4 separate regions of the Homo sapiens genome follow, and all the other regions are linked to region 1. Evidence: promoter capture Hi-C in 16 types of primary human blood cells and fetal thymus (Javierre and others, 2016). All regions are on one chromosome and are shown on one strand. The core of a region is centred on a gene start or on the middle of the fragment in contact, and the rest is flanking DNA. Distances in the headings are between cores, read along the strand shown.

What was found. The method cuts DNA at HindIII sites, captures the fragments that hold promoters and counts their contacts. A CHiCAGO score of 5 or more calls a contact.
Region 2: a contact is called between a fragment that was not itself captured here and the fragment with the promoter of FAM167A-AS1 in region 1, in 4 of 17 cell types (naive B cells, total B cells, fetal thymus and 1 more). The highest score is 9.8, in naive B cells.
Region 3: a contact is called between a fragment that was not itself captured here and the fragment with the promoter of FAM167A-AS1 in region 1, in 1 of 17 cell types (total B cells). The highest score is 6.2, in total B cells.
Region 4: a fragment that was not itself captured here is called in contact with the fragment with the promoter of FAM167A-AS1 in region 1 in 4 of 17 cell types (naive B cells, total B cells, M1 macrophages and 1 more); the score reaches 11.2 in naive B cells.

Annotation. Positions count from the first base shown.
Region 1 is chr8:11,365,253-11,370,906 of GRCh38, reverse strand. It overlaps FAM167A-AS1 (FAM167A antisense RNA 1), which reads right to left and starts at 2,505. Exons shown (of 7, transcript NR_026814.1): 1 at 2,455-2,505. It also overlaps the pseudogene TDH. The HindIII fragment of the contact is 6,691 bases long and covers 380-5,654 here.
Region 2 is chr8:11,661,140-11,666,915 of GRCh38, reverse strand. No RefSeq gene overlaps it. Among named protein-coding and RNA genes, the nearest start is that of GATA4, 40 kb to the left of the region's middle. The HindIII fragment of the contact is 736 bases long and covers 3,700-4,435 here.
Region 3 is chr8:11,708,704-11,714,621 of GRCh38, reverse strand. It overlaps GATA4 (GATA binding protein 4), which reads right to left. Exons shown (of 7, transcript NM_001308093.3): 2 at 5,694-5,918. Among named protein-coding and RNA genes, the nearest start is that of SNORA99, 6.3 kb to the right of the region's middle. RefSeq lists enhancers at 3,717-4,640, 4,641-5,566. The HindIII fragment of the contact is 9,957 bases long and covers 1-5,918 here.
Region 4 is chr8:11,746,501-11,751,931 of GRCh38, reverse strand. It overlaps GATA4 (GATA binding protein 4), which reads right to left. Exons shown (of 7, transcript NM_001308093.3): 3 at 2,847-3,016; 4 at 1,696-1,821. Among named protein-coding and RNA genes, the nearest start is that of LINC02905, 12 kb to the left of the region's middle. RefSeq lists an enhancer at 4,746-5,259. The HindIII fragment of the contact is 705 bases long and covers 1,431-2,135 here.

The DNA of each region.
Region 1 (5,654 bases), core at 1,256-3,755:
CTCCTCCCTCAGCCTCTCAAAGTGCTGGGATTACAGGCATCAGCCACTGCACTTGGCCATTGTGTCTATTTAAATGCAAGTTTTCTTCCTTTCTTAGAACATAAAAATAATAGTGTGTATTACAAATAACAGCATATTTTAATAACATATTTTTAATGATACATTTTCTAGGTGCCTTGAATATTAAAAAATTGGGAAAGTACAACCTTGGAGGCAGCTACTTGTTCTGGTTCATTCTTTCATACTACAACTTAAATTACAAATTATATTTAAACTTCTTACAGCAATGTAGGTACAGAAGAATTGTACTTACAGCGTAAAGAAAGAACTGGGCAAAATAATTTTTAAATTTTTGACCTTTTAACAAAAGAGAAAAGCTTTTCTTAAGGACTTCAGACAAATGGATCAACAGACAAGGTATCACATATACTCCCAAAATAAGGCAGAGTTATCTCCCGAAACTATCCCCTTAGGGATGCTCACCTTATATTTGAAACATTACACTCTTTCAGGATATACTAAATGCTGTCGGTAACCTGAAAAGAATACAAGTTATTGTTCTGTGGAAACATTATTAGCCTCAAACAACCTTAAGCAATGCTAATATTGTGGCTGGTAGGATAAGTTGTAAAGGAGGCACATTAACAGTCACGGTCTCTAGGATTATAAAGCTACAGTTACAAGTATTTGGTGTCACTGGAAAGAAGCCTGTTAAAAATCGAAAGCAATGCTCTGTGGATTCTGAAAAGCAGCTGCCCTAGTGCTACCTACACACAGGCATACTTGTGGCTTGGGATAAATGTCCACCAACAGCATCATACATAGACCCCGAAACTGCTGCATCCCAAACAACTTAGAAAGAAAAAAGATCATCTGCTCTTAACCTATTAGGGGATGCCAAAGGGGGCACCAAGATCAAATACGAAGTCGGAGTGACATGCCTGAAATGCGAATGTGAAGAGGGAAAGCCCACATGCTGGTTAATAGATTAACAAATCTGAAACACCTGCAACTAATAGTACAGGTGTCTATTTTATCCTCTCATCTACAATCCTAAACTTTATATATGTAAGTTGGCTAAAAAAAAGTTTTCTGGGATCTTCACATTGGAAGGTAAGGGGTGGCCTGTTTAGCTACCTTATAGACAAACATACTAAAGCTATAAAAACAGTGCCATGAAATAATTTTTTTTAAAGTGACTACCCTAAAAAAAAATCATTAAAAAACAAGATTCCTTTCTCACCGGTGATTTTTGGAAGCAATTCACTGATTTAGAGGCAGTTATCATCCGGTTATGTGAGATCTAGGATTTATTCACTCACGGCTCTTGTATTAGAATGTTAAGATTCTCCAGCAAAAAATGAAGTTTATATTCTTCAAACCTTTTAGAAAAATAAAACTTTCAACTGATCCTGTTGCCTCAGCCTCCCAAAAGTGCTGGGATTACAAGTATGAGTCATTGCACCCAGCCACAAAAATAAAACTTTTCAACAAATGTAAACCATACTGAGGTCCATGAATATGTGCCAAGAGGAAGGTGTTGATGGTCGAGAATTTCATCACAAATTAATCCAACTCGTTCCGAAGATAAATTTGACCACATAAAATGAAGAGGCAAGTAGGTGTTTACGCCCTGTGACCCAGTAATTGTACTTCTAGGTTTCAGCAATTAAATAGAATGACATCATTATGATACTCCATTCAACGAGTTATGCAGCTATCTTTAAATGGCAAATGTTAAAACTACATGTAAGTTCTTTGTAACGCATAGAGGACTGGAGAATATTTTAAAACAGCTACCATGTGACATGGCAAAAATTGAAAGTGAGTCTTTTCCAAAACTTTTGACAATATTGTCTTAGCACTACTTTTATAGTAAAAGAAAAGAAAAAGGTTTCACCTTCCACTCCTAGATTGTATAAGCACAGGAGAAAATAAAAGGTATACACTAGTTTTTTTGTGTGTTGTTGTTTGAGATGGTCTCGCTCTGTGGCTCAGGCTGGAGTATGGTGGCGCAAGCATAGCTCATTGCAGCCTCAAACTCCTGGCTACAAGTGATCCCTCAGCTTCAGCCACGTGAGTAGCAGCTACAGGTGTGCATCACCACATCTGGCTTAAATTATTTTTGTAGAGATGAGAGTCTTGCTATGTTGTCCAGGCTGGTCTTGAACTCCTGGCTTTAAGCAATCCTCCTGCCTCAGCCTCCTAAAGTACTGATTACAGGTGTGAGCCACTGCACTGGGTCCCACACTACACTGCTAACATGTTATTGATTGGGTTTGGAGGGGAAGACAACTTTATTATATATCTTTTAAATTGTCTGAACTCTTAATAAACATTTTTTTAAAATGACAGAATTTAAAGCATTTTCTGAACACCCTTACCATAAAATACAATCACAAATTGGTGATTTGGCCTATGTGAATTAAAAAATACTAAATATCTCCCACCTACCATAGTAAGTGTCCAAAGCACTGCAGTAGCTTTCACTAATCCAGTCTGTTCTGGACTCCAGGCCATCTATCTTGCTGGCAGACTTCGGGATCGCTGTTTGTGTAGCAACACAAGGCACATCCCAGCAACGCCACACACAAACATGTGAGCAGAAAACTAATAACCACCGGTAGCCTGTGTAAAACATCAGAACAAAGCCAATCTTTGTATTCTTTCTTTTTTATTTATAAATAAACTATTTTTGTGGTTAAACCCACTTTTCCTTCAAATAGCTTTTTGGGTTATTTCCAAATTAATCATAAAAAACCCTTTCTCCCAACAGAACGGAAAGCATTTTACAGGAAAACATTGATGGGCTCCGGGATCCCAAGATGTGCACCAGATACTGAGTGTTCAGACAGAAGGGACAACTCTAATTCTAGTCTTGGAGTACAAAGATGTCAGTGAATAAGAATCATCCAAAGAAGCTGAAGCATTCATTATTTTTTCACTCTTATTTGAGATCTCCTGGAGGTGTGTTTACAGATTGGGAAAGATTCAAGGAACCTGTTTGGAACAAACCCCTCCAAATGATCCGAATTAAAGGTCATTCTAGGAGCCTGGTAGAAATGCTGGAAGGTTAGGGTCTAGGAGACAAAGGTCACTCGAGTTGCTGCTTCTTATCTTATGAAAGGGAAGAATTGCTTGTTCCTTTAAGATAACTGAGAATAAATTAATCAAACTTAAGAACTGTTTTTTAAACTATAAACAGTAAGCAATCATTTTAAAACTCAATTATCTACCCAAATGTTCACAGCAGCATTATTCATAATAGCTTAAAAAGTGCAAAAAACCTAAATGTCCCTCAATGGATGAATGGATAGAGAAAATAAGAGGATTACTCATACAATGGAATATTACTTAGCAATAAAAAATGAAGTAGTGATACATGCTAAAACATGGATGAACCTTGAAAATGGACTGCTTAATTAAAGAAGCCACTAAAAGACAACCACATTCCACTTACATAAAATGCTCAGAACAGACAAACCCAGGGACAGAAGAAGTACATTAGTGGTTGCCGAGGGTGGGAAGGGCTTATATAATATGATTTCTTTGTGGGGTGATGAAATGGCCTAAAATTAGATTATAGTGATGGTTGCAAAACTTTTTAATACATTGAAAACCACAGAACTATAAATGAGTGAATTTTATGGTATGTAAACTATATCTCAAACTTTCAAAAAAAGAATTCATTACTAACTTTCTGATTTTAAAAAATAAAATCTTCCTGCCTCTCAAGAGCAGCCCAAAAGAAAAATAACAAAAAAATAAAATCTACAAACATAAACCTTATTAAGTGGAGGAAAAAGCTACAGTAATGTAACTGTTAAACAATTCAATTACCTAAAAGTTCTCCAGTTAATAGTCAAATAGATTTTAAATCCAGTTATGCCTTCAAAAAAATCCACGCTTTGACCTAACAGTTCAAAACTCCAAATGCATAACATTTTGTTATTAAGCATGCAACATAAATAAACGCCTTTTAATCCTTGATAGCTGTTATCAAATATATCCATGATTAATCTGTGGAACTGGAAGTTTCACTTCCTAGTGATTTTACATGCAGTACATTCCGAGGTCGCTGGAAAAAAGTTAACCTGTACGTGTCTATACAGTATTGCACCAGAAATATTTTTTTAAATGACCGGATTGAAAGCATTTTCTGAACACACTCATTCCCTTACCATAAAATACAATCAGAAATTGATTTGGCCTAACTTCAACTTAAAAAGTTAACCTGTATGTATCTATACGGTAATTGCATCAGAGGGTTTAGAGTAGCCCTTCTGAAAGCTCAACCCAGGAATATCTTAAAAAAAAAAGATGCAACAAGAAAGTGCTCTTTAGAAAACTGCATTGGTCTAAACTGGTCTGACTAGTGGGCCTCAGCTGGATTCAAATAACCAGTGGCACCTGGCACTTAATGAGTGAATCTAAAGGGATGTAGCCCAGAAACCTGTGTATTAGACAATCTCCCTAGATGCTGATGTTGCCAGGTCAGGGAATTATGTTCCTGGGAATTACATTTAGCTCACTAATAGGAGGGCAATCAAAATAAGAGCAGGGCTACCCTTCGCTGGTTACATCATCTTTGAATTCTTAATTTCCCACAGATCTAGCATCTTACAGAAAAACCAGAAATTATAATTTTTGAAGCAGTGTCAAAATATCTTGAATGTGATAGACATGGGATGAATACACCAAACATGTTTTACTTTCGCTGGGATAGTAAAGAATACTTATAAATGAGGAGTACCTCTTTGAAAGTCCTTAAAATGTAATCTTTGGTCTTTAGTCAAGAGAATAATCGAGTCTTAAGAGGAATATTTAAATTGAATTTAATTAAACACAAATGTCACATACTCCCAGCTTCCCAGAAATAGTCACTTCATCCTAATTAAGGAAATGGAAACTAATGATGACTTAAGCCTTATTCTGTGGAATGTGTTTAGACAAGTTCAGGCAAACAGCAAAAACTGAAAAGTCCCACCACCATACCTACAACATTCTGAAAATGCTTAAATGTTAACTCCATTCTTTGTCTAGCAGTTCAATATGAGCTGCCAAAATTTAGTCCAATGAGTCAGTTCCAAATAATGTAGGCTCCTTGGAGTCTATAACCTTGGAGTTGTGACAGTTCTCCCTTGACAGTGGACCAGGACACAGGAGCTCCTCTTCCAGATTCTTTCAGTTGGCTTGGGCAACTCTGCTTTCAGAACCATGGAAGTTCAACATGGCAGTCACCAACTCTGGAAGATCAAAGTCGTGTTTCCACCCCCAGTCCTTCCGAGCATTGCTGTCATCAAAGTTCATCGGCCAACCATCCGCTAGGAAAAGATACGCAAGACTAGCTTAAGTTATTCAGGTTGTGGATTTGCAAAAAGGTCTTGACCATTGTATATAAAGGTCTACCGTACAAGGTACAAAACAGGAAATTCCTTCGAGTAAAGCAGAACCGCCATTATGCACAGTCACCCTCCTAGGGCCGAAGACTATTAACCCATCTTTCGTCAGGCACTGTGAATTTTCACACATTATCAAAATCTCACACAACTTCATAAGAAGTTTTATACTCAAAGAGGTGCTTCCATCCACAAATTGGCAAAGTTACAGTATTTGAAAACCTGGGGCTGTTTTCATACTACCTCTGTTGCTTC
Region 2 (5,776 bases), core at 2,818-5,317, 290 kb before region 1:
TTACTGTTTCAATTTTAAAAAGAGTTATAGGGCTATTCAAATGGCTGATTTCATATTAAGTAAGTGGTTGTACTTTATACTTTTTGAAGAATTGGTATTTTTAGTAGAGATGAGATTTCATTCACCATGTTGGTCAGGCTGGTCTCGAACTCCTGACCTCAGATCCACCTGCCTCGGCCTCCCAAAGTGCTGGAATTATAGGCATGAGCTACCACGCCCAGTCTTTTCAGCTTTTTGTTTTATTGTTTTTTTTCTGTTATTTTTCTATTTTCTATTTCATTGATATCCGCTCCTGTCTTTATTACTTCCTTCCTTTTATTTGCTTTGGACTTATTTTGCTCTTATTTTTCCAGTTTCTTGAGGCGAGAGCTTAGATAGCTGATTTGAAACTTTTCCTCTTTTTTTTTTTTTTTTTTTTTTTTTTTAATTGAGACAGGGTCTCACTCTGTCACCCAGGCTGGAGTGCAGTGGTGTGTGATCACAGCTTACTGCAGCCTCAACTTCCCTGGCTCAAGTGATCCTCGCACCTCAACCTCCCTTCCTGAGTAGCTGGGACTACAGATGTGTGCCACCATGCCTGGCTAATTCTTTAAAATTTTTGTAGAGACAGAGTCACACTGTTTTGCCCAGGTTGGTCTCAAACTTCTGGTTTCAGGTTATCCTCCTGCCTTGGCCTCCCAAAATGATGGGATTATAGGCACGAGCTGCTCCACCCAGCCTGATATTTTTAGGATAAATGAAGGATAAAACTGGTATAAATTTGGAGTCATTTTAATGAAATTATTATTCTTAATATTGATGTAACTATTCTAAATGAATAAAATATTAGCAAGCTGAATCCAGCAGTATATTAAAAGAAAATATCAATGTTCAATAGGGTTTTCCCTTAGGGAGCCAGGTCATTAATATTAGGAAACAGACAGGCACTGTGGCTTATGCCTGTAATCCCAGCTACTTGGGAGGCTGAGGCAGGAGGACTTCTTGAGCCCAGGAGTTCAAGGCTGCAGTGAGCTATGATTGTACCAGTGCACTCTAGCCTGGGTGATAGAGTAAGACTCTCATCTCTAAAAAAATAAAACAAAATATTAGGAAACAATAAAATTTATTACAGTATTCAGTCAAAGGAAGAAAAACTATACAACTATACCAATAGGAGTGAAAAGGCATTTAACCAAATGTAGCATCCTTTCTTGATTAAAACAAATAAAACTCTCACTAAAAAATTAGAACAGAAGGATATTCCCATAATATAATAAAAATATCTGACTCAAACACAATAAAGAAATGGGACCTTATTAAACTAAAAGCTTCTGTACAGCAAAAGAAATAATCATCAGAGTAAACAGACAACTCACAGAGTGGGAGAAAATATTTGCAAACTATTCATTTGACAAAGGACTAATTTCCAGACTCTACAAGGAATTCAAACAAATCAGCAAGAAAGAAACAAATAATCCCATCAAAAAGTGGGCAAATGACATGAGTAGACATTCTCAAAAGAAGGTATACAAATGGCCAACCAACATATGAAAAAATGCTCAACATCACTAATTATCAGGGAAATGCAAATTAAAACCACAATGAGATACAACCTTACCCCTGCAAGAATGGCCACTATTTAACAAATTAAAAAACAATAGGTGCTGGCTGCATGTGGTGAAAAGGGACCATTATACACTGCTGGTGAAAATGTAAATGAGTACAACCTCTATGGAAAACAGTGTGGAGATTTCTCAAAGAAGTAAAAGTAGATCTATCATTTGATCCAGTAATCTCACTACCAGGTAACTACCCAAAGGAAAAGAAGTAATATCAAAAAGACACCCACATGCATATGTTTATTACAATGCAATTCTCAATTGCAAAGATGTAGAACCAATCTAAGTGCCCACTGACTAATGAGTAGCGAAAGCAAATATATATGTCATGGAATACTACTCACCCATAAAAAAGGAAATGATATCTTTTGCAGCAACTTGACTGGAGCTGGAGGCCATTATTCTAAGTGAAATAACTCAAGGATGGAAAACCAAACACGGTATGTTCTCACTTATAAGTGAGAGCTAAGCTACGGGTATGCAAGGGCAGACAGAGTGGTATAATGGACTTTAGAGACTCAGAAGAAAGAGGGAGGTAGGGAGGGAGGTGAGGGATAAAAAATTACTTATTGGGTACAATGTATACTACTTGGGTGACAGGTGCATAAAGATCTGACTTTGCCACTGTACAATTCATCCATGTAACCAAAAAACCACTTGTACTCAAAAAGCTATTGAAATAAAAAAAGTTTGAAATCTGACTCAAGCCAACCACTAGCATTATTTAATTGTGAAAAACCAGAAGAGATGTTCTCATGCTTGTTAGGAACAAAAGCAAGATGCCCAACATCAGTATTCCGGAAATGCTAGCCAATGCAATAATATAAGAAAAATAAGAGACAGAAGAATTGGAAGGGAAGAAGCAAAATCATTTTTACCTACACACTGCAGAAGTCTAAGCTGTAGTCCCTGCCTCAAACCCACCTTTCTGCCTTTCTGTTTTCTGTCTTGTGCTTGTGGGGTTGAGATTCTATAAGCCACCATTCTGTCTTTCTGGCTGGCTCTGTATCAGGTTCTGCCCACAGACAACAATGAAGGGAGACTACAAGGCTTGTGGAGGTGAAGGAAATACACCTTTCGTTTGCTTCCTAGTCATAAATGCTTTTCTCTAGCCTCTCTATCATGGCAGCAACAGTTCATTCTTGTAGCAGCAGCTGAATCCAGTTTTCAGTTTTGTCTTTTTTTTTTTTTTTTGAGATGGAATCTCACTCTGTAGCCCAGGCTAGAGTGCAGTGGTACGATACTTGCTCACTGTAACCTCCGCCTCCTAGCTTCAACTGATTTTCCTGCCTCAGCCTCCTGAGTAGCTGAGATTACAGGCATGTGCCACCACGCCCAGCTAATTTTTGCATTTTTGGTAAAGATGGGGTTTCACCATGTTGGCCAGGCTGGTCTGGAGCTCCTGAGCTCAAGTGTTCCCTCCATCTCCACCTCCCAAAGTGCTAGAATTACAGGTATGAGCCACCACGCCCAGCCCAGTTTTTCTTATTCTTGCAGAAACAAACTCTTCAAGATGCTGTCAGAGATGCCAGTACTGTCTGTCACTCACCCCCTCCTCAGACATATGTTTCCAGCCCCATGGGCCTCTCCTCCAAGTGTCTAAATGTTAATAATTTCAACCTTTTTCTTCTGATTGCCCAACTTTACAAGTAATATCTGCCTCTGCAGTCTCTACCTTCATCATACGTTAGGATTATCTTTCTGCTTTAGTGGTTTTTCCATGCCTAGTTAACAATTCCTTTTATTATATTATCTGTTAAAAATACTGATATAGTTTCTGTCTCCTCACTGGTCCCTGGCTGGTACCCCAGCTCATAAGATAGTTTTATACGGTAGCTGGTTATAAAAGAAGTTTCTGAAGAAATTAACTTTCATACCAACACTAACTAGTTAAGAAACATAATTGGGTGTTTATCTGAAATTCACTTGTGACTGGGTATCCTGCATTTTTATCTGCTAAAGCTAGAAACCCTCAATATGGAGAGCCTGCTCCAAGTGTTTTGGGATCAAGGGATGGGATAAGTGTTGATGGGGATGCTGTGTCAATGGTGGGATCCTACACAGGGCTACTGGCATTATGATAGCGTCCTGTTCCAAAGCTTGGATTAGCACACTAGGACAACCCAGGGTTGAAGATAAGTGAATGCTTTACAAAGATGGTGTCTGAAGGGTGGTGAATTTCCCAGGAATATTATCCACACACATTACAATATATTGGACATAATGTCAGCTCTACCTACTCTCTCCAGAATTCTTGTCTTATTATTCGTTTTTGTCAAGTCACTCAAATACACCAATTCGCTGCTGTCTCAGAGCCACCTCCCATTAAACTGACCTCTGACTACAATGGTACTAGTTGAGTCCATGAGGCCAATAAACCTGGGGGCCTTGTGGGCTGGGGGGGAAGGAGCCAGGCCACCCGGAGCTGGCCTGAATCAGTCTTTCTGGGAGTAAAGTCTCTCCTGAGGGAGGTGAATGAACTCTGTTCTCACCCAGCTCACAAGCCACGTTTTCCTGGTGGCGCTAACAGTGCATTCGCCTCCCTTGAATGGCTTGGGTCACAGAACGGTTTGTTCTTGTTTGTTGAATAATAGTACCAGGGAACTACCACCACCACCACCACCATCCCCTTTACATACAAAACACAGAAATTCAAACATTTAGGTTCAAATTTGTATCCAAGAAAGGTCTGGAAAGACCCTGCAAATGTAAAAATAGTTACTCTGGGAGAATGAGATTAGGGGGTTGGGTAGTGGGAGTAAGGCAGTGCTTTTCTTTCTTTCTTTCTTTCTTTTAAAACATTTTATTCACTGCTGCATTGCTTGAAAACAAAAGCTTTACAAACAGAATGTAATGTTAATAATTTGTAACAGACCAGTAACAAAGCAATAACAATAGAAACAAAATTTGAAAATAAAACCCACTTCCAAACACAACTATTTTCATGTTTTGAAATACTGTTTCCCCCCACACACACAATTATTGCAGTTCATAGGATGTGAGCAATTTTTTTTTTATTCTGCTATGTTCCTTAACATTTTACTACAATTTTTCTTTGCATTGCTAAAAATTCTTTCTGAGCACACCCGTTTCAGGGCTAGAAGGGTAGCTTTGAGGACAGCTTGTAGCAAAACTTGTCTTTCCTGAGCCCTGCCTTACCCAGCTAAGGAAGGTGGAGGTGGGGAAGGGGTTAGTTTATCTTGGGCAAGTTCCTTCTTTTCTCTGGGCCTCAATTTTGGTGTTTGTTTTTTTTTTTTTTTTTTCCATCTGGAAAAAGAGGCACTGGAAGCAGGTTCTCCCAGGGTCTCTTCGAGTTCTCATCTGTTACCCTCACCAAGCACATCATAAATAAGGATCATTTGGACATAATTCTTTGTAAATCTTTATTTAATCCACCAGCCTTCCTGTTCCAAGATCACTTGGCGCAATGCAGTTCATTTATCCTCATGATAAATACCTGGCAGTGGACAGAATTTTCCCTTTCATAGATGGAGAAACTGAGTCCAGAGGTGTGGGATGGAGGTGTGGGATGATTTACCACCGTTTCGGCCTCTTATCAGGGCAGCCCTGGGGTTCGGCTGCCCGTGCTATGGGTGATGCATAGCAGACGGGGTCTCCGTGGTGTGGACATCACGGCGGCTTACGTATGACTATTGCACAGATCCATCATGTGCCTGCGGCCTCCCTTTTTTTCCTCTTTGGACTTCAAGTCACTATTTCTCTGTGACATTTCTTTGGGATCTATTCGTGAATAAACCTTTGGAGCCAACACACACACACACACACACACACACACACACACACACGCACACACGACAATTTGGTCACACCTAAGAGGCAGATAAAGCTGGAGCGAGCCTGCAAAAGGAGCTGCAGATAAAAAGTCCAGTATCGGGGCAGGTAACACCCAATTACAACTGAGCAGTATTGACTTACACTTTTCCTTATCGGGGGAATCAGGTATTTGTGTAGATTTGTGTAAATCAGAGAAGGATTTGATGGATACCAGTGCATTGGAGTCTCTAGCCAACGGACAGGTTTGGTTAAACAAAATATATATTCTCCTTATCTGCAGTGGCGACTATCACTGCAACTCCCCGTCTCCCCTCTACTCCTCCGAGCTCTATAAAAACGAGGGCCTTATCTAGCATTTGTAATAGGCTCATGTCTAGCAGGGT
Region 3 (5,918 bases), core at 1,904-4,403, 340 kb before region 1:
ACCCCAACACACCTTTCTTATTTAATTCGTTCTCAGCTTAGCACCACAGACCAACCCCAACTCTGACTGACCTGCTCAGGGTGGTAACCGGAAAGTTAAACAACTTTGGTTTTCCTGAAGATCGACAAATCATTCTCCAGTCTCACAAAGTTCCCTGCACAAATGAACCGGCTTTGAAAGCCACTAGCGTACTTGATAAGCAGGTCCCAAAAGATCCAGAAAACACTTCGGGGTTTTTCACTGACCTGCACCATAAAAAAACTCTGAGAACACCTTGAATGCCCCCACTCCATCCCTAATGGGGCAAAACTTCTTTTAAATAAATTGTTTGAATAACACAGTGATATACTGTACATGTATTTCATTGTGTTGTTATTTTTATCGACTCTAAAAATGATTCAAACTTTTTGAAATCCTTGGAGAATATCATAATTGCTTATGTCTCCATTACACAAAATAATTGTTATTCCATACTTAAATATATTTTCCTAGCCTTTCCAGTAACACCTACCACCATATATCCGTCAAGGCATATTTACAATCTATTTCCATTTCGGTCTCCTTTTCAGCCTTAAGTACTCACAAGCATTAACTGGTATAAAAATCAGCTTCACTGAGGTGTAATGTACATGCAATAAAAGACTCCCATTTTAAGAGCACAGCTCCACAATTTTGCCATATGGAGATACACGTGTAACCACCGTGACTGGGTTCTTTAAAAGGAAACAGCTACGTTCTCCGGCTACGTCCGTTTCACAGGCACATGCAGATCCTATCCTAGCCCTGCAAGGCAAGAACTATCCGCAGAGCTCCACCACAAGTGCTTCCAGCGCCCAGGAGTTTATGATGAAGACAAGCCATATTCTATACTGCATTTCCACACAACCACAATTGTCTAGGAGTGTTCTTCTCACATCTAATATCTGCTCACCTTCACTAACACAGAGTTAAAAGGTCATGGTCTTTTTTTTCTTTTTTTTTTTTGCTTTTCAGAAATTTGGACACAGTCATACTCCATCTTGCTTTCATCCACTCAGTGACTTCTCCAGCCTAAAAGCCCTGCTTTCCTCCAGTGGTTCCCTGAAGTTTCCAGAACCCTCTTCCATCCTGCCCACCGTTCCCCTAGGGCTCTCCAGTTTGCTTCTTAAAGGACTCACGCAGCCATTCTGTGTGGTTGGACCCAGGCAGGGCAGAGTCCTGGGGCAATTACCACCAAGATCCCTACGCAAATATTTGCTAAGTGCCCAACATGTGCCAGGCACTTAAAAATGAGTAAGACTCTGTACCTGCCCTCAGTAAGGTCACATAATTCCATTCATGCAGCCTAATTAATGATTTTAACATTTGTCTTAGGGTCGTAGCTCATATGGAACTTGGAGTGAATTAAAGTTCACATACATTGCAGTCAGGCCACACTTATTTCTTCCAACCTAAGTTCAGGGCTTTACAGAGGCCCCTGTTAACTTTTATTATTTATTATTGTTTTGATTTTTGCCCTATTCACATAACCAACATAAGAACTATGGCAAGATATTGTTAAAACTACAGCAGTTACATAGAAAAAAAAAAGTGTTCTCTTGTTTCTCCTCATTGAAATTAAAAACAGTTTCTGAGTTAAGGTTAATTAGTCTGTATAGTTTTACCTATTGTGACAAATATATTATTTAAATCAAAGGCCAGGTTGCATTGTATTATTTCATGGTACTACACAACATATTAGTAAAGCAGAGTATATCCTTTCTTTTTCTTTTTCTTTTTTTGAGACAGGGTCTTTGCTCTGTTCTCCAGGTAGGAGTACAGTGGTGCAATCACGGCTCACTGCAGCCTCAACCTCCCTGACTCAAGCGATCCTCCCACCTCAGCCTCCTGAGTTGCTGGAGTTATAGGCATGCATTACCATGCCCAGTTAATTTTTTTTTTTTTTTTTTTTTAGAGATGTGGTCTCACTATGTTGTCCAGGTTGGTCTCAAACTCCCGAGCTCAAGCAATCCTCCCACCTCAGCCTCCCAAAGGGTGGGATTACAGGTGTGAGCCACTGCACCTGGCCTCTTTTTCTTTGTCTTTCTTTTTTTTCCTATAAAATGGTCAATATTTCTTTTTTTAAAAAATTGCTGGTTCTTTTCCTGACAAACTCCTACTCACCCTTCAAGACCAAATGAAGCTGGCAGCACTTAAATGACTACTTCCAGAATCTCAGCAGAGGGAAGAATGATGCTGCTTCTCCTTTGCTCTCAGCTGCTTCTCCTCTGCTGTTTCTTCTTTGTTCTCAGCTCATTACCAAACCACAACGATGGGTAATGCACCCATTTTCACATTGAGTGTCCAACAATCTGCGTTCACTGGGGACTGTCCCAGGTTTACCACGAACAATCCCACATTCTGGGAAAACCCTCAGTCCTGGGCACACCAGCAAAATTGGTAACTCTACATGACAGTGAGTGGCTATTCAATAAAATAACCATCATTTATGAAGGGCTAAAGCCAAATTCTTCAAAAGTATTACCTTACTTTTCTAATTTAAGGCAACACTAAAAATTGTTATGATGATCCCATTTTACAGAAAAAGAGGTGAGACCGAGAGAGGTAAGTAACTTGCCCAAGATGACACGAGGCTCCTGGAACTGAATCTAGGTTTGCCCAACTTTAAAACCCTGTGCTCCTCCCACCACACTGTCTGGCCATCTTAGGGCTCAGTGGCAACTCCTCAGAAAGCTGGGGTCAGTTCTCATCTTCCCTCCATGACTCAGGGTCAGCTACTATGTGATGCTGGTCCTCACTAAAGCTGCCAGGCAGGTAGGAGAGCCCAAGTAATGGGAAGAACATATAAAAAGCACATTCACATGCACTGGTTTTTTTTTTTTTTTTTTTTTTTTTGAGAGAGGGTCTCACTCTGTCACCCAGGCTGGAGTGCAGTGGCCTCGGGCTCATGTGAGCCTCCTACCTCAGCTTCCAAAGCTGGGACTACAGGCATGCCACCCCAAGCCTGGCTAATTTTTTAAAATGATTTGTAGGGATGGGGTCTCACTATGTTGCCCAGGCTGACCTCGAACTCCTGGCCTCAAATGATCCTCCTGCCTCAGCCTCCCAAAGTGCTGGGATTACAGGCATGAGCCTCTGCGCCTGGCCACATGCACTGCTTTTAATTTCAGTTGCTTTTATGTAAGTGCCACCTGCATAACACGCTGAAGCTATGAATGCCAACAAGTTCAACATGCCCTGTGTTCCCTCACAGAGAGCCGCACCTCTCCTAAAACACTTGGCTGGGTGCAGAAGAGAAAAACCACCCTCTAGGCCAGATTCAAAGGCTGTGGACTTCATAAGCTATCCGGGAAGAGCCCAGAGAAGGCAGGTGGCAGTTCTTGGCAGAGAGACGCACAGGGAGGTCAGCTTGCCATTTGCTGACATGGGAATTTGGGAAACATCACTTCATCAGCAACCTCTACATGGCATGGCTGACATTTCAAAATCTGAATACTGTGTGCATTCACATGGTATTTCGGTTTTTTGTTTGTTTGTTTTGAGACATACTCCCTCTGTCGCCAGGCCTGGAGTGCAGTGGAGCAATCTCACTCAACCTCCGCCTCCCGGGTTCAACCGATTCTCCTGCCTCAGCCTCCCAAGTAACTGGGACTATAAGCACACACCACCAAACCCAGCTAATTTTTGTATTTTTAGTAGAGATGGGGTTTCACCATGTTGGCCAGGAACTCCTGACCTTGTGATCCGCCTGCCTCGGCCTCCCAAAGTGCTGGGATTACAGGCGTGAGACACCGCGCCCGGCGGGTATTTCGTTTTTACACTGCTGGATGTAACTCATGACTTTTAACTTCTCTCTTTTCCTTAACCAAACACCAAATTCCCTCCAGGATTGTCGGGGTTACAAAGCAAACTCTCCCTGGACCAGTCCTTTTTTTTTTTTTTTTTTTTTTTTTTGAGACGTAGTCTTGTTCTGTTACCAGGCTGGAGTGCAGTGGCGCGATCTCGGCTCACTGCAACTTCTGCCTCCCGGGTTCAAGCGATTCTCCTGCCTCAGCTTCCCCAGTAGCTGAGACTACAGGCGCGCGCCACCACGACCGCTAATTTTTTTTTTTTTTTTTGTATTTTAGTAGAGGCGGGGTTTCAACAGGTTGGCCAGGATGGTCTCGATCTCCTGGCCCAGTCCTCCCTATTTTAAGTCAGAGGCCCCAGAGGGCCCTGGAGAGGACCCCGTAAGCGCGCAAGGCCAGGGCGCCGCGCCCCGCCCCGCACTCCCGCCTGCGGGCTCCATTGTGTGGCCATGTCGCCGCGCTATCTCGCAAAAGTCGCGGCGAGGCTCGGCCGGGCCCCTCCTCCCCTGGGGGTGGCCGTCTGGCTCCCCCAAGAGGGGTGAGGGGGAGGGGAACACCAAGAGCCACAGACCGGGCCTCGGCGCCACTTTCAGGGTTAATCAGTTTGCCGGCGATGTGTATTTGGCTGCACCCCCGGGAACCTTCCCTGGCCACCCAGGGCCAGAGGACAATTTAAAAGCGCTTCAAAGCCTAGGCCCTTCTCGGAGCCAGCCCAAGACTGGAAACCTGGCAGGGGTAGCCTTTACTCTTCAAAGTGAGAACAAATGCAGAAGGATTTAGCACTTAGTAGGTGGTCAATAAACGCGAGCTTTGCTTCTCAAGCCTGGGCTTCCCCTCCCCCACAGGGTGGGCTCAATCCAAACTCACTCCTCCGTCTCTTCCCGAAATTCCAGAGGTCGTTTGCATTTTGAACTAGGGGTTGCCACTTCCCTTTCTCCCCCGGCCCGTGTACTCAGGCCCCTTCTCAGATCCCGCTGCGTTTATTTGTGAATCAGTGGAGGTTGAGACAGGTTTGCCGTCCCTCCCCGTCTGACATCCGATGGAAACACTGCATGGAACCTACCACAACGGTTATTTCCAACCCTGGCCCACGCGAGAAGAGGAGGCTCCACGCGTGCAAGCGACTGCAAAGTCTCCATTTAACTCGGGTGTCATGAACAAGCGCGTTTGAGGTCCCTATGTTCCCGGACACTGACCGGGCGTGTGCGCCCCCCCCCCCGCTGCCCGCATGATGCGCCCACGCGCTCGGCCGGGTGGCACCCGCACAGTGCCGGCTCCTGTTCCGCGCATCTCCCCGGCGTCTCCTTTGTCCATCCCTCCTTTGTTCTCGGTGTGAGACCCCCGACGGGAAAATCATCAGCTACCCCGAGGGATCCTCCAGCTGGGCCGCCAAATGGCCCAGAAGGTCTGCGGTCCAAACCATTGTAATCAGTTCCCTGCGGAGGCCCGAGGGCGGGCGGGGAGGAAAGGGGCGCAGAAACTCAGCAATCTCCAGCACCTTCCACGAGGAAATCCCAGGCCGCTGCCCCCGGCTCTCCAGGGAGCCCGCTGTCCTCCCGCGTCACCCACAGCGCAGCGCGGCCACGGTCGATGTCTGGGATGGCGGGGAGGCCGCACTCCGACCCTGACACCATCTCAGAAGAGGCCCCGGCGGGCAGGCCCGGCCCCTTCCACAGAAGCCGGTCTTCTGGGGCTGTGATGTCGCCAGCCCCGCACTGGCTTCTGCCTTCCCTAGAAACTCGAGGTAGTGAAGCACCATCCCCAGCCCAACGAAGGCGTTGGTGGAAAAACAAGAGGCCCTCGACAGGGCTCAAGACGGCCCCTGCCCCGGCCCTCACGCGCCCCAGCCCTCGCGCTCCTACTCACCGAGATTGGGGTGTCGGGCGGCCGGGTTGGCCCGGCCGGGCAGGCTGTGCAGGACCGGGCTGTCGAAGGGGCCGGCGGAGGCGGCGGCGGCTGCGGCCCAGGACGCGCCCACGTCGGCCATGTAAGCCGGGTAGGGGCTGGAGTAGGAGCCCGCGAAGCCGGCGCGCCCGTACTGCTCGCGGCCCGCCAGGCCCGCACCCGCCGCTCCGCCGCCACTGCTGTAGG
Region 4 (5,431 bases), core at 534-3,033, 380 kb before region 1:
GACCTGCCAGATATAATGGTGTTCATGGTTTCAACCTTAAAAAATACCACTAAGTTAATAGATGCAGTAATTCAAATACAGATCAATAATATATGAGAGTATCTAATTCCCCAAATCCATAGCAGCAAACACTTTAATTTTTGCCAAGTATATGGGCAAACTAGGGACTTTCATGGTCATTTTCAGGTACATTTCTCTGATTTTTAGTGAGATTCAGCATATGTGCACATGTTTCATGGCTATCTGGGCAGCTTCTGTGAGATGTCAGTCCATATCTTTTGCCCATTTGGGGGAAGTGGGGAAAGATCAATTGTTCTTTTCTTATTAGGCTACAAGACCTATCTGTTTCTGGTTTGGTTTGGTTTTAATTTAACTTGTATTTGAACAATTAAGACTTGCATATGTCCCGTCTAAGGTACCAAGGGGGTACACAGCAAAAAGAGTGTCCTTCCAATCCCTTCTCCCCAGGACCCCAGTTTTTCTCCTGGAGGCACCCCATGTACGTATATATGCATACATGTGACCATGTGACCAATCTCTACATATCCTACCAGAGGTGTTCTGTATATGTGGAAGCAACCACCTATAAATTATATTCTTCCTCATATTTATAAAAATAGTGCCATAGTAGGTAGTGTTGGGCACCTTGCCTTTTTGTTAATATTGTATAATGGAGAATGTTCCAATAAAAATTAAAGAGCTTTGTAGAAGCTCCTTGTAATTCTGGAAATATTAACCCTTTTTCTGATACTGTGTGTATTGGTCTTTACTTTCCCTAGGTATCATTTCCAGGCACAAACAGTAAATATTTACAAAATCAAATATATCTAACTATTCTTATATGGCTAAAAAGTTTTAAAATCTTGTTTAAGAAGTTCTCCCATCCCCAAAGTTATATAAATACTTTCCCTTACATTTTCTTCCAGTGTTTTTATTGTCTGATTTTCTTTGCAGTATTTTATTATCTAATATTTTTATTTTTTTGGAGACAGGGTCTCACTTTGTCACTCAGGCTGGAGTGCAGTGGGACAATCAGAGCTCACTGCAGCCTCAAACTCCTGAGCTCAAGCCATCCTCCTACCTCAGACTCCTGAGTAGCTGGGACTAGAGGCATGCACCACCATGCCCAGCTAGATTTTTTTTTTTTTTTTTTTTTTTTTTAGTAGAGACAAAGTTTCACCATGTTGTCCAGGTTGGTTTTGAAATCCTGAGCTCATGCAATCCTTCTGCCTCAGCCTCCCAAAGTGCTGCAATTACAGGCATGAGTCATGATGCCTGGCCTTACTTTTAGTTTATTTCAAAGATGTTTTACATGTAATATCCTTAATTCACCCAAGTTTATTTTTGTTTAAGGTAGGAGGTAGAGGTCATGCTTTCCTTCTGTTTTCCAAATGAACAGCCAATTTTGTCAATACAACTATCCTTAAGCTTCTTATCCACTGAATCGAAACGTCACCTTTGTTACACATCAAACTGCTACATATAAATGTAGCCTGCTCATCTGTAAAACGGAAAATTCACTTATACAATGTAAAGGACGGAAGAGGCCAGCAAAGTAGTTGAAAGCCCCTTCCAAATCTAAGTCTCTTTGTTAAGAAGGAAAAATGAATGCTAGTACAAAGGAAGAAGACAAGGGAGGACTGAGAGATGGGCATCAGAAGGCAAGGATGCCGCATGGGCGCAGGACCCACGTACCCCGTGGAGCTTCATGTAGAGGCCGCAGGCATTGCACACAGGCTCGCCCTCCGCATTGCGGCGCCACAGCGTGGTGGTGGTGGTCTGGCAGTTGGCACAGGAGAGGCCCACTCGGCGGGAGGCGGACTGCAAGACAGGAAACAAATGCTTCATGTCCAAGTAAAAGGTGTGCACTGCCCTTCCACCTCGCGTGTGGCTGCGGAGCTGGGCCTCCCTAACGGGAGGCAGGGCTGGGCCCTAACGACCCTGCATGAGATCTCTGACCTGTGACGGCACCTAACTCTCCTGTCACCTGCGCCACTGCGAGGAATAAATCAGAACAAGGTTTCTGCTGCCCGAGGAGAGCGAACGTGGGCATCGAGACCTGGTTTCCAGTCCTAACCATCATTCACCGTCAGGCGAATAACCAGTGAGCGCCGGGCACTGCCGGCAGGAAAGCTTCTCCTGAGAGGAGAACTGACCGGGGCTGCAGGTGCCGGGGGCAGGCAGAGAGTGAGGAATCACGGTGTCCAAATGGTATCAAAGTCTGAATGGCCCTGGGACCTCAAGAAAGGGAGGCACCAGGTTTATCCCCTCTGTTCTTCCCTCCTTAATATAGTGCAAGCTGGTTGGTGTTGACCAGAATCAAATTATATTAAAAAGGAGCAGGAAGCCAGGAGCCAAGCCCCAGGCCCAAACTCTTCCCTAGCCACGGGGCCCAACACAAGCTGCTTGCACTTCTGGGCTTTGGGATTTATCAACTGATCAACTGAGGTCAGGGTAGAGACCAGCCTCTGAGGTGACCTTCCTTGCAGGGTTGGTGTGGGTGGAGGAGACACTCCAGTCAACACTGGACTGGGAACCAGGAAACCTGGATTCTGGTTCCAGAGTTCTAGATGGGAGACTCAGTACCTGAGTGGCTGTGGGCAAGGCCACTAGCTTTTCTGAGCCTCACTTTCAGTTTCTGTGTGCCGAAGAGGTTGAACTAGACAGCCTGGATCATTCTGGTGGCTCCAGCTAACTCTAAAGTTGTGAGAATTATTATGGGGCTCTCACCCACGTAATCCCCGATGCACACCCTCAAGTTCCAAAATTCAAAACCAGAGGATGTCCCACCAAGGCGAGAGCTCCGCAGCCAGGTGCCCAGAGGAGGCTGCGAGGCACGTGCTTACCAGCCGGCGCTGAGGCTTGATGAGCGGCCGGTTGATGCCGTTCATCTTGTGGTAGAGGCCGCAGGCGTTGCACAGATAGTGACCCGTCCCATCTCGCCTCCAGAGCGGGGTGGACATAGCCCCACAGTTGACACACTCTCTGCCTTCTGAGAAGTCGTCAAACATATCTACTGAGTTGGGGGGAACAGACAAGAAAAGACACAGAGGATTAATTCTTTGTTTATGCCCAGCTCTCACATCTGAGAATCTAGAGCGCACAGAAACAATGCCCTTTCCTTGGAAAGAGAAGACCACCTCGGGCTGCTCTTGCTCTTCCTCACTCTGACTTCAGCCCCTGCTCCCTAATCCCAGACACTGAGAGTTCCCCTGAGCACGAGAAGAGGAAAAAGTTGCAGTGATCACCCACGTCCTGGGCTGGGAGGCGGGACACCTGGATTTCAGTGCAGGTATCACATTCAGAGCCTCCAGCCCTAGGCCTCTCACCTCACACTGAGGTCCACGCAAACCTTGCTCTCTCTTTTTCCCTTTCAAAGTTAGTAAGATTACTTTTCCTTTTGCATAAAGATATAATAAATATTTACCTTAGGAAAATTAGTGCCAAAATATATAAAGAAAATCCAGATTGTCACTAATGTTTTGAGCATTTGGTTCTATTGTATCCTTTGTAAGACTGTATTTATTTTATTCTTTTTATTAGAGACAGGGTCACTCTGTCACCCAGGCTGGAGTACAGTGGTGCAGTCATAACTCAGTCCAGCCTTGAACCCCTGGGCTCAAGCGATACTCCAGCCTCAGCCTCCCAAAGTGCTGAGACTACATGCATGAGCCACTGTGCCCAGCCCTTTGTGAGACTTCTTTTCTCTTTTTGAGACGGAGTTTCACTCTTGTTGCCCAGGCTAGAGTGCAATGGTGCGATCTCAGCTCACTGCAACCTCTGCCTCCCACGTTCACGCGATTCTCCTGCCTCAGCCTCCGAAGTAGCTAGGATTACAGGCATGCGCCACCACACACGGCTAATTTTGTGCTTTTAGTAGAGACGGGGTTTCATCAGGCTGGTCTCAAACTCCTGACCTCAAATGGTCCACCCGCCTCAGCCTCCCAAAGTACTGGGTGAGTACACCACACCCGGCCTTGTGAGACTTTCATATGTTGATCCATATTTTTGCCAAGCTATATAATTCTGAGTCTGTGTGGGTCGTTTGCTTAATACCAAAACATTTTCCCAATGACAAATTCTTTATAAACTCATTTTATAAAATTCTTTATACACTCATATACCATTGTTCCATCATATAAAGGTGCCATCATTTAACTAGTATCATTCAGCTATTAATCTTCATCCAGTTTTGGATTCTTGTTTCATAAACACTGCTCCTTACTTAAGTCTGTGCATTTCTAGTTATTCCTTAAGATACTCTCTGAGAAGTAGAATTTCTGAGTCAAAGGCACTAAATTTCTTTTTCAGTTCTTGGAATTTGCTAACTGTCCTGCAAAAAAAGCTTCATTCATTCATTTTTTCTGTTTTAATATACCTGTATGGGCTGCCATATCATAGTTGGACATTTTTCTTGCTTATTGGTATATAAAATAAAGGTGCATATTATAAGCAATGGCACTTTAGAGCTGCTCACATAAGCGTAGCATCTCCCCAGCTACCACAAGGCTGCCGGGGTCTGCCGCTCCCTTCACTCGCTCACCCCTCCCCGCCATCACCTTTATCATCCATGTCTACAGAATGTTACAATTGACAGATTCCACCTGTGTCCATTCTCCTCACCCTCGTGAGACAGGCTGGGCCAGTTTTCTTGCTCCCCGTAGTCTCTATAAAGCCTGGCTCACCATCTCCAGAAGTCTCTCTGACTTCATGTTATCCTAATTTGCTGTCCCAAAACACATCTACCTTGGTCTCCAGATTCTTCCTATGCTGCTGCCAGAGGCAAGGGCAGATTTTTCTCTAGTGAAGAGGGGTGCTTTTATTGAGTTGGGAGGACAGGTGGTAAAGAGCTCTCTTTCCAACAGGACCCAGCTCGGGAGTGGGTTGAGGTTGCGCATTTTGCTAGTTATGTGGCCCAGCTACTTGCTCTAGGGGAATGTGGGCCAGAGAAGAGGATGGTGGGGGGCCCTCCCCACAACTCTGGGTACACAAACAGTCATTTGCACCTGCAAACAGGTAGCTGTGTGTCCACACCAAGTAAACAGTGTGCAGGTGTAAGGGGCTATTTGCTCAGGCCAGGGAGCGGAGCACAGGCGTCACAGCAGAGGCTATTTTTACACCTGGGTCACACTGACAGCCTCCACCAAGGTCGCCTGCCCTCAGAGCCGCCCATGAGATGCGGCCACTCCCGCCCATAGCTTGCTCCCAGCTGGACCACCACAATCAACACTACTGTTGCCACCTCTACAGTCCGTGCCTATGGGCTGTCAGCCCCGCTTCTTTCATCCAGGCCTGCCCATGAGGGGATTAAAGAGGCCAGGAATTTACAGAAGGACATTAGACCAAGCCCACTCCACAGCAAGAGGCGGGCGCGGGCAACGTCGTCGTTTTGTTGGGTGTTCGCAATAAACACTGGGTGGCGCTACCATCT